Regions from separate parts of the Homo sapiens genome. Here region 2 is linked to region 1. The links are contacts of gene promoters, found by promoter capture Hi-C in blood cells and fetal thymus (Javierre and others, 2016). All regions are on one chromosome and are shown on one strand. The core of a region is centred on a gene start or on the middle of the fragment in contact, and the rest is flanking DNA. Distances in the headings are between cores, read along the strand shown. Region 1 holds the start of LYRM9 (LYR motif containing 9). Region 2 overlaps LINC01992 (long intergenic non-protein coding RNA 1992).

Region 1 (5,384 bases), core at 274-2,773:
TGTTGTGAAAGTTAAAATCTTGTGCGTTTGTAAAATTGGAAGAGGCACAAGTGATTCTGAAGGTGGAGCCTTTCAGAGGTAAAGCAAACAGCTTGCATCTTCAATATTTTATGAGATCTAGGTATTAGAACCATGTTTCTGATGCAGGAATACAGCTATCTAGGAACAAAAGGGAGATGAGACTACAGAACAGACTGTGAAATTTCTTAAAATTATTAAATGATCCTAAGACTGAGCACAGGAGTGGATGATGTTACTGCAGATTGTTCTTAATAAGGGCTTTAAAAGCTTAATGATTTATTGATTGGCTCTGCATTAATGACGTGCCCTTGATTATGCATGTGTAAATAAGAGGGCTGATTTATGAGGGTACAATTGTATCTTTCAGATATATTTGTCCAAGTCTACATCTTTAAAATAAATGGAAGCAATTATCTGAATATTTCAAGGGAGGGAACCCCACCTTCCCATCCCCCACCCCCGATTTGAGGGAAGTCTAGTATGTTAGGTGAAGAGAAAAAAAAAGAAAAGAGGAAGCTCTAAAGGGAGTTAGGAACAAAACAAAACTTCCGTTAAGAAATATCCCTGCTTCTCTTATCCTAAGAGAAGAAAAACAGATTCCCAGGTGCCACCGGGGAGCAATGTTTTACTTAAAAAAAAAAAAAGAAAAAGGAAAAAGAAAAACCTGTAAGAAGTTGTCCTGTTAAATCAACGACACATGGAGTCTGAAGGAAATCAGCCTTTTCGTTACAAACAGGTTTAAAAAGCCCTGGAGAAGAGAGACGTGAACAGAAGCAATATTATCCACTAACAACCTAACTCCCGCTTAGACATCAGCTGAGAGATCAGCAGCATCATTGAACAGGGGGGTTTGTCTTAAGATAATGACTCATCTTGATTTCTTTCAGGATATAAAACTTGTATTTAAATCAATTCAGAGAAGCACTTGAGCTTTAAACATTAGAGAGCAGGGAGAGCCTATTTAATAAACAGCATTATTTCATTTTCAAAGAATGATACTGGCAGTAGCTCTAAGTTTAAATTTTGTATTATTTTCCTCAATTATAATTATAGATGGGTCTGAAAGGAAGCATGCTTATTACTGTCATATTTATTCTTTTGACAGGTGTTATGGGACTGTAATTTGGTGAAATGATTCAAAACGCAGATTCCTATCCAAACACAATTCTTGTCATCAACACGAGAGGTTCAGGAAAAGTCCTCCAGCAAGCCTTTCAGAGATCTTGAACACCCCATATTCATAGCACAATCCATATTCAGGAATAAGGAGGAGAGAGTGCCTTTAGGGCTTATATCCGGCGTAGCAACAGCCAGAAGGCAGAGTGGGTGTTTGAGGTAACAGGTAACGAAGGCTGTTAGTGGGGACAGCTTTCAACTGGGTGGGGTCGGATCTAGGAAGAGGCACCCAGTAGGACCCCGAGTCCCGCGCGCGGCCGGCAGAGGGCGCTGGGCTCACCGTCGCCGGGCAGGGGCGGTGCCGCTCAGTCCCCGGGGCGCAGGCGCACTCGTCGCCGCGGCGGCGTCCGGGGCTGGCGTTCCCCTGGAGGCTGGTGAGCCGCGCTGCGCAGGCCGAGGCCGAGGGCGGGGGCGCGGGGGCAGCGGCGGCCGGAGCCACTGGGTGGCGGGGGCGGGCTAGGGATGTGGAGGCCTCGGGTGTCCTCGGATCTATTGAAGACCTAGGGGCGACCCGCGCCGGCACCTTTTCCCTTGCGGTCTGCGCTCTTCCACCGGAGAGCTGAGTGCACCGGAGCGCGGCGCCCGGGCTTGACGCAGGCCTGGCCGGGCGGCCTCGGAGGAGCAGGAAAGGCCTGCAGCGCGAGCTAGGGGCGCGAGGTCCGGGGCAGCCCGGAGGCCAGCCTCTCAGAGGCTCACGGGCCTGGCCACTTTTAAAAGGAGAATGTCCCCTCCACCGTCCCTCTGCCCGCGGCACCCGGTGGCCGGAGCAACCTTGTCGTGATGATTTATGCTTCTGCGTAAGAGCAAGTTGCTCCGTGGCCAAAACCCTTTCGCTCCTAGGATTGATCCTTTTTGTGGTTATTGTTTTAAAAAGTTTTATTGAGATATAATTCACGAAGCATACAGTTCACCCATCTAAAGTGCACAATTCAGTGTCTTTTAGTGTGTTTGCAGAGTTGTGCAGCTGTCACCATAATGTTTTAGAACATTACCCCCCAAAAGAAACACCTCCTTTAGCTGTCACTCCCCCCTCCCATCTACTCCCATTCTCCCAGCCCTAGGCAACCACCAATGTACTTCTGTCTCTGTACTTTTGCCTATTCTGGATGTTTCGTATAAATGGAATCATACATTAAGTAGCCCCTTGTGACTGGGTTTGTTCACTTAGCGTAATGTTTTCTGGGTTCACCTGCCATAGGTTCTTGACTTCAGGACAGTTTCCTGCTGGCTTTAGTTTCCTCTGGTAACTTGGGAATCAATTGACATCTATGGAACTTCTGTTATGGTTCAGGTACTATAAACTGTGGAGGAGTGACTAATAACCGTATATATATTTTTCTTACTAATTTCCCTTCATTTCACAGGTGTTGAACTAATACAGTATAGTTTCTTGTTCTTCAGAAGCTTACAGTCAGCAAGGAACAGAAAGCCAAATAAAGTAGGAAAGGGTAAGATGTTCAACGCTGGGCGCAGTGGCTCATGCCCATAATCTCAGCACCGTAGGAGGCTGAGGAAAGAGGATCACTTGAGCCTAGAATTTTGAGACCAGCCTGGGCAACATAGTAAGACTTCGTTTCTATAAATAATTAAAAAAATTAGCCAGACGTGGTGGCGTGTGCCTGTGATCCCGGCCACTTGAGAGGCTGAGGTAGAATCGTTTGAGCCCGGGCAGTTGTGACTGCAGTGATCCCTGATCATGCTACTGTACTCCAGCCTGGGTGACAGAGTGAGACCCTGTCTCAGGACAAAAAAAAAAAAAAAAAGATGTTCAAGCACTTAAGATGTGCCAGCCCCTGTGCTAGGCACTTTCCATAAGTTAGCTAGGTTGGTCTTTACAAAACCCCTGTGAGGTGGGTTATTCTTTTCTCCAGTTTACAGTGGGGGAAGCAGAAGTCCAGAGAAGTCAACCAGGTTGGCCAGGATTACACAGCTAGTAGATAGCAGAGGTAGGCTTTTAAACTAGGGTTCTTTGTCTCCAAAACCTGCTCTAAGTTCTGTCACATCGATTATAATCACAATAAGTGATTACAGAGCAGTGTGATGACTGTAATAGGGGTGTGAACAGCATGGGATGAAAGCCTGAAGGAGGTGACAGGGAACTGGATCTCTAAGGATGAAGGGGAATTCTTGAGGCAGGTGAAGAAGTCAAGGTAGGGGAAAGCACAGCATGTTTCAGAGATGGTATTAACAATAACAGTTAGTAGGAAACATGTAGTGTGTGCCAGGCATCATGCTTAGTAGTCTAGGAGCGTTATTTCATCCTTACAACAGTCCTATGTAGGAAATACTATTTATTAGGGACCGCATTGACAGATGGGGAACAGACTTCGAGATAGAAGTTAAGAAACTCGTCCAGGGTCCTAGAACTAGCAGGTGATAGAACCAGGATTTGAACCCAGACTGTCTGATCCCAGAGTCCTCCAAGTTCAGTCTGTGGCTAAAATGCAGGAAGTGTGGGAAGGACAGCAGGAGGGGAGACTGATGAGAGGGATTGAAACAGATCTCAGAAGGCCATGGGTAGAGAACTCTCTACAGAGGTTCTGAGGAAGGGGAGTGACAGGGTGTGCTTTTTAGGAAGTGTTCTTGGGTGGCACCATGTGGATTGGGCTGGAAGGAGGGAGACAGATCAGGAGGTATTCGGATAGTCCCAGCCAGGTATGGGTACAAAGCTGGGAACCAAGGTAATGCCAACAGGGATGAAGGGGGCAGGGAGGGGGTGAGGGGACTTTAGAGCCTTGGCTATGTAGGAGAGGGACTGGGGGAGGCAGGGATTGCTGCCCCATTGCTAGCTTGGGAGAACACAGATGTGCAAGATGGAGCCCTGGAGTGGGTGGGGGTGGGAAGCAAAACCACTCCATTCCTATTTTTCAACTTTTCCCTTCAAGAAGAGTAATTGCATATTTAAAAAATGGCCTGTGCAGGCTTAATTTAGCGTGTATCAGTGCTCAATAGGGCATAATTTCTGGTTATTTTCTGCAGTTCCATTCTTTCGTCTTTTTTTAATATATGACTTTTTCCCACTTATTTTTAGGTGCCTATATCGGGACATAGATTAGGGAAAAGGACAGTGGGGTTAAATGGGACTGTGGGCCTGCTTCTCAACATCTGTGCCAGTGATAACACTTGGCTTCCAGGAAATTCCCTTTGTAGCTTTATTTTCTCTTTTTAAAAATTCTGTCATATTCTCCTTTGGATTTGGTAAGAGCTTTGTTGTTAAGCATTTCTTTAGTTGCTCCTTTCCTTTATCTGTGTAATTGATGTCAGCCTGGTGACTCTTTCTTTCTTTTGATTTTTTTTTTCCATCTATATGCAGGGGGAAGCTGCAGACGATGTCCTTGGGTTTCAGAAAGGCATGGAGCAAGGTTTTGTAGAGAAGATTGAGGAGTACTGGATAATAGTGCAGTCAAGTGCCTTTATAAGTGCTTGAACCTGGTCATGCATGAACCCTGCCAGAGTTCTTTGTGGGGTCCTTAGCCCTGATCTGGTCAGTATTTTTATGAGTGGCTCAGACATAGCAGGTAGATTCACGAAGCAGATAAGGGCATAGTCTTTGGAATCAAATAGACCTAGGTTCTATTCCGGGCCTTGCTCTATACTAGCCTTGTTGCTCTTGGCAAATTACTTAACCTCTCAGGGCCTCAGTTTCCTCATCTATAAAATGGGACTAATGATACCTCCCTTAAAATATTGTTGTGAGGATTAAATGAGGTAACATGAAAAGCTCTCAAACTTGGCATGTCCTACTCATTCCCTGGATGGGAGCCATCGGCTTTGCAGAAGGCTCTGGGTCAGAGAGCTAGGTACACCAGACTGTTCATCTCTGTGGTCCTAGGGCTGGGTCCAGAGTTGTACAGGTGCTAGATGCTCTGAATGGCATGGCGTAGTTGACTGATGCTTACAGTATATAGGGTTACTGTCTTTCTCTTTGTCTTTACCCTGTGTTTACCTGGGGTGTGACTGTTTCTGTGCTCTTATTTTGTTGAATTGAGTTGATATAACAGACCCCCCTAAGGATGGTGGCAGATTGTGACTCTGGAATGACCTCATAAAATAAAAGATGGGGAAAGAGACTTAAGAACAGCTCATGGAGCCGGGTGCAGTGGCTCACACCTATAATCACAGCACTTTGGGAGGCCAAGGCAGGTGGATCACCTGAGGTCAGGAGTTTGAGACTGGCCGACATGGCG
Region 2 (5,813 bases), core at 1,644-4,143, 51 kb before region 1:
TTGATGGACATTTGGACTGTTTCCACCTTTTGGCTATTGTGGATGCTGCTGTAATAAACATTCCTGGAGAGGTACTGGGTTGGGTATTAGTTTTCAGTTCTTTTGAGTGTATACCTAGCAGTGTAATTGCTGGATCATATAGTAATTCTATGTTTAATTTCTGAGGAATCACCATGCTGTTTTCCACTGCACCTGAAACATTTTATATTCCAATTAATACAATCTTAAAGGTTCCAAAGGTGTTGGGTAAAAAGAGGAAAAAAATAAACTATTAAACTTCTGTTTCCAAAATTGGAAAACTTTAATCATTTCCCTAACATCTAAGCAGGCACTTGGGCACACTTCCTGGCTGGATCCTGCTTGCTACACTAGCACAAAGAGAAGGGGCTGGCTGCTCACCCTCCTCCTGCCCCCTCTCACTTGCCCTCCACATACGTAGTCACTTGTAACTTATTGTTACTGACTTTGAATGGAAGCTTTCAGCTGCTCCATCCTTCCTCTGTTGGTTGAAGGGCTGTCAATGGGATGGGAATTACAACCGTAGCTGCTGTTATCTGTGTCGTATGGCTGGCTGTGTATTACTGGCTGCACTTGCCAGGGAATTAATCCCCTAAGTGTGGATGGCAAATGATGAAAACCTGGCACATAAATAAGGAGACAGGCAGCGCTCCACTGACATGCCTTGGGAAGTGATCAGCTTGTCCCTGTGCACCATACTCAATGTCTCCAAGCTCAAGGGCCATTCATCCGCAGGGAAACAGCCAGACTTTCATTCATTCATTCAATGAACATTTATGGAATAGAGCACCTATTCTGTGCAGCACCGTTCTAGACATTTTTATGAGTTGTATTGTGTAAGACTTACAATAGAAAGATATTATTGTCCTCAGTTCAAAATGAGGAAGTGGAGATTCAGAGAAATTAATAAATTTTCCCATCATCACACAGCTAGTATGTAGTGGAACCAGGACTTGGACTGAATTCCCTAGGGCCTCCCTCTCTGTCTCACTTCCTTCTACACTTATTTACAGCAAGCTGTATGTGCCAGGCACCCATGGTAGGCACTGAGGATATCATAGTGAACCAGACAGACTGGTGTAAACTGTTCCCTGTTGCTTTTCCATTGTGTCCTATGACTCCTGGGCATCATCTCAAACCTACTCGATTTCTTCTCAAATGTTCCTTCTTACATAATGACCAATGCAGCACAGTCCAAAGAGCTGTGAGGTTGAAGATGAATTAAATTCAGGCCCTGGGTTCATGCCTCTTTGAATATAGACCTAAAATCTCATGGTTCCAAGATGTGATTAGCAAATTTCATCATGCCCCTCTTGCTCCAAAACCTCCCATGGCCCAGGGCCTACAAACATTTCTGTGACATGAAAAATGGTAAAGACTCAAGTGGGGCTCTCCATGGGAGCTGAACCATGCACAAAGGTTGAGGAGAGCATTTTAAAAAGTGCTTTTCTGTGCATAATGCGAAATTCATGGATAGAGAGGCATCAGCTAGGCGTCAGACCATGGAGGGAGGCATTTCTCCAAACTGAGAAACAAGGCAAGGCTTCAAGACTGAAAGACCATGACTAAGAAAAAAAAAGTCTGAAAGACCAGCTGTCCCTAGAAGATGCTGTCAAGACCCACACACATCCAGTTCATTTGTGTACGGCACCCAGGCCCTCCGTTTATCATCTTTGGTTCAGGTTTTGCATATTCGGGTAAGTTTGTGCTTAGGTTATGCAAGTAAACATATGCTGAGAGGTAGCAATGTTTATTTCAGTGGAAGCATTTATTTTAATAGCTTTATAAATCACACCAGGATTGCATTTATAGCATCATTAAGGAACTGAAGGGGTCACTTAAATGCTTAAGTTAGACTTTGCTGCTGCACTTTATGGGAGACATTATATGCTGTCAAAGGCAGAAGGATAAGAAGCTAGGTCCCACCTTCCTGTTCCCCCTACACTCCATATCCCCAAATACCTAGATTTTAAAATGAAGAGTTATAGACAGTGAACAGAAAGACTTTAGTAGTGTCCTTGTATCATTGCCAGTCTCCTCTTGAGGACTAAAAACTTCAGGATTTGGAGTCTAGAGACCCACAATCTGGGCTTTATACACCATCTATATAGGGCAGGGGTCCCCAACCCCTGAGGGACCAGTACCAGTCCATGGCTTGTTAGGAACCAGGCTGCAGAGCAGGAGCTGAGTGGAGGGCAGGCGAGCATGACCACCTGAGCTCTGCCTCCTGTCAGAGCAGCGGCGTCATTAGAGTCTCGTAGGAGCGGAAACCCTACTGTGAACTGCACATGGGAGGGATCTAGTTTGCGTGCTCCTTATGAGAATCTAACTAATGTCTGATGATCTGAAGTGGAACAGTTTCAGCCCAAAACCATTTCCCCCCTGCCCCTTGTCCATGAAAAAATTGTCTTCCACAAAACTGGTCCCTGGTGTCAAACAGGTTGGGGACTGCTGGTGTAAGGGACTTTGGAAAAAATCACTTGAACTTCCTGGGCCCATTTCCTCGATTGTAAAAAACAAAATGAAACAAAACAAAACAAAACAAAGCAAAATGGGAACTATAACAACCACAAGGCTGTGGCTTTGTAAACAATGTAACAAGACCCCATCTCCACACACACAAAATTAACAATTAGCCAGGTGTGGTGATGCATGCCTGTTACGGCTTTTGTAATTCCCCAACCTCACTCCAGAGACTGCTGCTGGGTTTAGGGCTGAGATGAACAGGGGCCTCTGAAGGGAAGTGTATTTGTTTCCTGTGGCCGCCATAACAAATGACCACATACTGGAAGGCTTGACATAATGGAAACGTGTTGTCTCATAGCTCTGAAGGCCAGAAGTTTGGAATCAAGGTGTCAGCAGGGCTGGTTCTTTCTGGAGGCTCCGAGGGAGAATCTGTTCCCTGTGTATCTCCTCGCTTCTGTGGCTCTGCAATCCAATCCTGGCATGCTGTGGCTTGCAGATGTATCCCTCTGATCTCTACACCCTGTCTTCATGTGGTTTTCCCCCTGTGTCTCTTTGTCTCCAATTTCTCCTTTCTTTTATAAGGACACTAGTCATTGCATTTAGACGCACCCTAAATCCCGGATAATCTCATCTTCAGATCCTTACCTTAATCACATCTGCAAAGATTCTACTTCCAGATAAGATCACATTCACAGGTACCAGGGGTTAGGACTCAATTTCACCCACTATAGGCAAGAACATGTAAATCCTATCTAAGAGAGGAGGCTAAAATTCATGGCAAGAATGAGGATCTGGACCAGATTAATTAGGGTGGGAGGTAAGGGATGAATATGAGGGGCAGGAGGACTGGCTTTCACGTGGTACTATCCATGGTGTGTGTTGGCGGGGCGGGGTGGGGGACAGAACTAGCAGTTACAAAAAGCCGAACTGAACCACCCACCACTTGTCTCATGCCAAAATAGGAGCTGAAAATTTAGTAGTGGCCAGGCACCATGGCTCATGCCTGTAATCCCAGCACTTTGGGAGGCCAAGGTGGTGGGAGGATCCTTGAGGAACTCCCAGTAGTTCGAGACCAGCCTGGACAATGTAACAAGACCCCATCTCCACACAAAAAAATTACAAATTAGCCAGGTGTGGTGATGCATGCCTGTAGTCCCAGCTACTTGGGAGGCTGGGGCAGGAGGATGGCTTGAGCCCAGGAGTTCAAGGTTGCAGTGAACTATGATTGTGCTACTGCTCTCTACTGGTATTTGTTACTCTTCCAGAGATATTTTTAAGGGCAAGAACTCTGAAGTCAGACTGTCGCGTGCAAACCCAGGCTGTTTGGCTGTCTTAGTCCATTTTGGTGCTACAACAGAATATTTGGGATGGACTAATTTATAAAGAATGGAAATTTATTTCTCACAGTTCTAGAGGCTGGGAAGTCCAAGATCAAGGTGCCAGCATCTTGTGAGGATCCTCTTGCTGTATCATCCCATGGAGGAAGGCAAGAGGATAAGAGAGAGAAAAAAGGGGAAAACTGGACCTTTTATAAGAACCCACTCCTTTGATAATGGCATTAATCCATTCTTGAGAGCGGAGTGCTCATGGCCTAATCACCTCTTAGTGGTCTCACCTCTTAATGCCATCACAATGGCAATTAAATGGCAACATGAGTTTGGGAGGGGACAAATATTTAAACCATAGCAATGACTTTGGGTAAATCACTATGCCTAACTTAGGTTGAGTTCCTTAAAAAGAGCCTGAGACAAGATTCCAACGCACTTGATTTATTGAGGGAGTGCTTTTGGGAGAAAAGGGGCAAGGAAAGCAGGATAGAGGTAGCAAATGGATCTAAGCAAGAATGTAATCCCAGCTAGAGTCTAGCTTTTGCTTGACTCCACCGCAAAAAAATTTGGAGGGAGAATTGCACCATACAGTTGGTCCCACTTTGTGGTGGTCCTGCCCTGCATCAACTAGTCAGTGGCTGAGGGCTGCCATAGTGGGAGGGGAAGGCAGTGTATAACTTCCTAGGTGAGACCACTCCTATCCAGCCAGGGGCAATTCTCTGGAAAGAGGGGAAGCTGTGAGTCTTTAGCAGCCAACATTTACAGCCAGGAAAGGGAACTAACAGTATTCACTATGTATAACTTTGTATACTTCAGTTTCCTCAACTACAAAATGGAGCTGGTAATAGTAACTATCTCATATGATTGTTAAGCCATTTAAATATGTTAATATATGTGAAGCCTGCCACATGTACATGTTCAGTAAATCTTAGCTATGATTATTGTAATATTTATTGATGAGTAACAAACCATCCCAAAATTTAGCAGCTTAAAATAACAAACATTTATTAGATAACTCAGTTTCCGAGGACTAGAAATTAGGAATGGCTTAGATGGGTGGTTCTGGTTGATGGCCTTTCACGAAGATGCAGTGAAATGTCAGCTGGGGCCGCAGTCATTTGAAGGTTTGACTGGGGCTGGACAGTCTGCTTCCAAGGTGGCACACTCACGCAGCTATTGGCAGGAGGCCTCAGTTCCTTACTCCATGGACATCTGCATTGGCTGCTTGTGTGTCCTAGTGATGTGGCAGGTGGCTTCTACCTTAGCAAACAATCCAAAAGAGGGAACTAGGAGGAATCTACAAAACACTTTATAACCCAGACTTGGAAATCACACACCATAACTTCTGCTATATTTTATCGGTCATGAGTCACCCAGTCCAAGCCATGCTCAAGGAGATGGGAATTAAGTTCTGTCTCTTAAAAGGAACAATATTGAATAACTGTGGAATTTAAAATCTACCACAATTAGTTATTGTTAATTTCTATAGTAAGCTTGGAAACTACTGATTTGTCCTCCAAGGAAAATTTGTGTTTGAAAAATGAACACACAAGTAGGCCACGAATAAATCTCAAGCAATGGATCATTCATGCATTTACATAAAGTAGCTGTCTTTTTACTATTATTATTATTCTATATCTAGAAATAAAGTAGTTGTTTCTGGGAAGGGGAGACTTGCAGGGCCCGCTGAATAACACCATACCTTCCATTTGCACACTAGCATACCGCCACTGCCCCAGAAAAATTCCACTTCTCTTGATTGGCCAGTGGAGTCCAAGAAGCTGCAAACCTCTGGTATAGTCAATTGTTTAACCTTTCCTAACTACACACACAAACACACACACACACACCCCTCATGATTCTGTTCTGCTTAATCTTTTAGCTTCCTGGATTCACTCACTAAACCTGGCTCCTTCTGGCTGTATTCTGGGTTTGTCGACCTTGGTTTCCCATGCGACTTTCAGCGTTGCTTACTTTCTGGTCTCTAGCTTCCAGGAATAC

The links. The method cuts DNA at HindIII sites, captures the fragments that hold promoters and counts their contacts. A CHiCAGO score of 5 or more calls a contact.
Region 2: a fragment that was not itself captured here is called in contact with the fragment with the promoter of LYRM9 in region 1 in 1 of 17 cell types (megakaryocytes); the score reaches 5.2 in megakaryocytes.

The regions. Positions count from the first base shown.
Region 1 is chr17:27,889,504-27,894,887 of GRCh38, reverse strand. LYRM9 (LYR motif containing 9) reads left to right here and starts at 1,523. Exons shown (of 4, transcript NM_001076680.3): 1 at 1,523-1,571. RefSeq lists a silencer at 1,342-1,891 and an enhancer at 4,902-5,384. The HindIII fragment of the contact is 2,313 bases long and covers 291-2,603 here.
Region 2 is chr17:27,941,876-27,947,688 of GRCh38, reverse strand. The region is part of intron 2 of LINC01992 (long intergenic non-protein coding RNA 1992); the gene reads left to right. Among named protein-coding and RNA genes, the nearest start is that of LINC01992, 47 kb to the left of the region's middle. RefSeq lists enhancers at 2,303-2,362, 2,413-2,472. The HindIII fragment of the contact is 4,829 bases long and covers 479-5,307 here.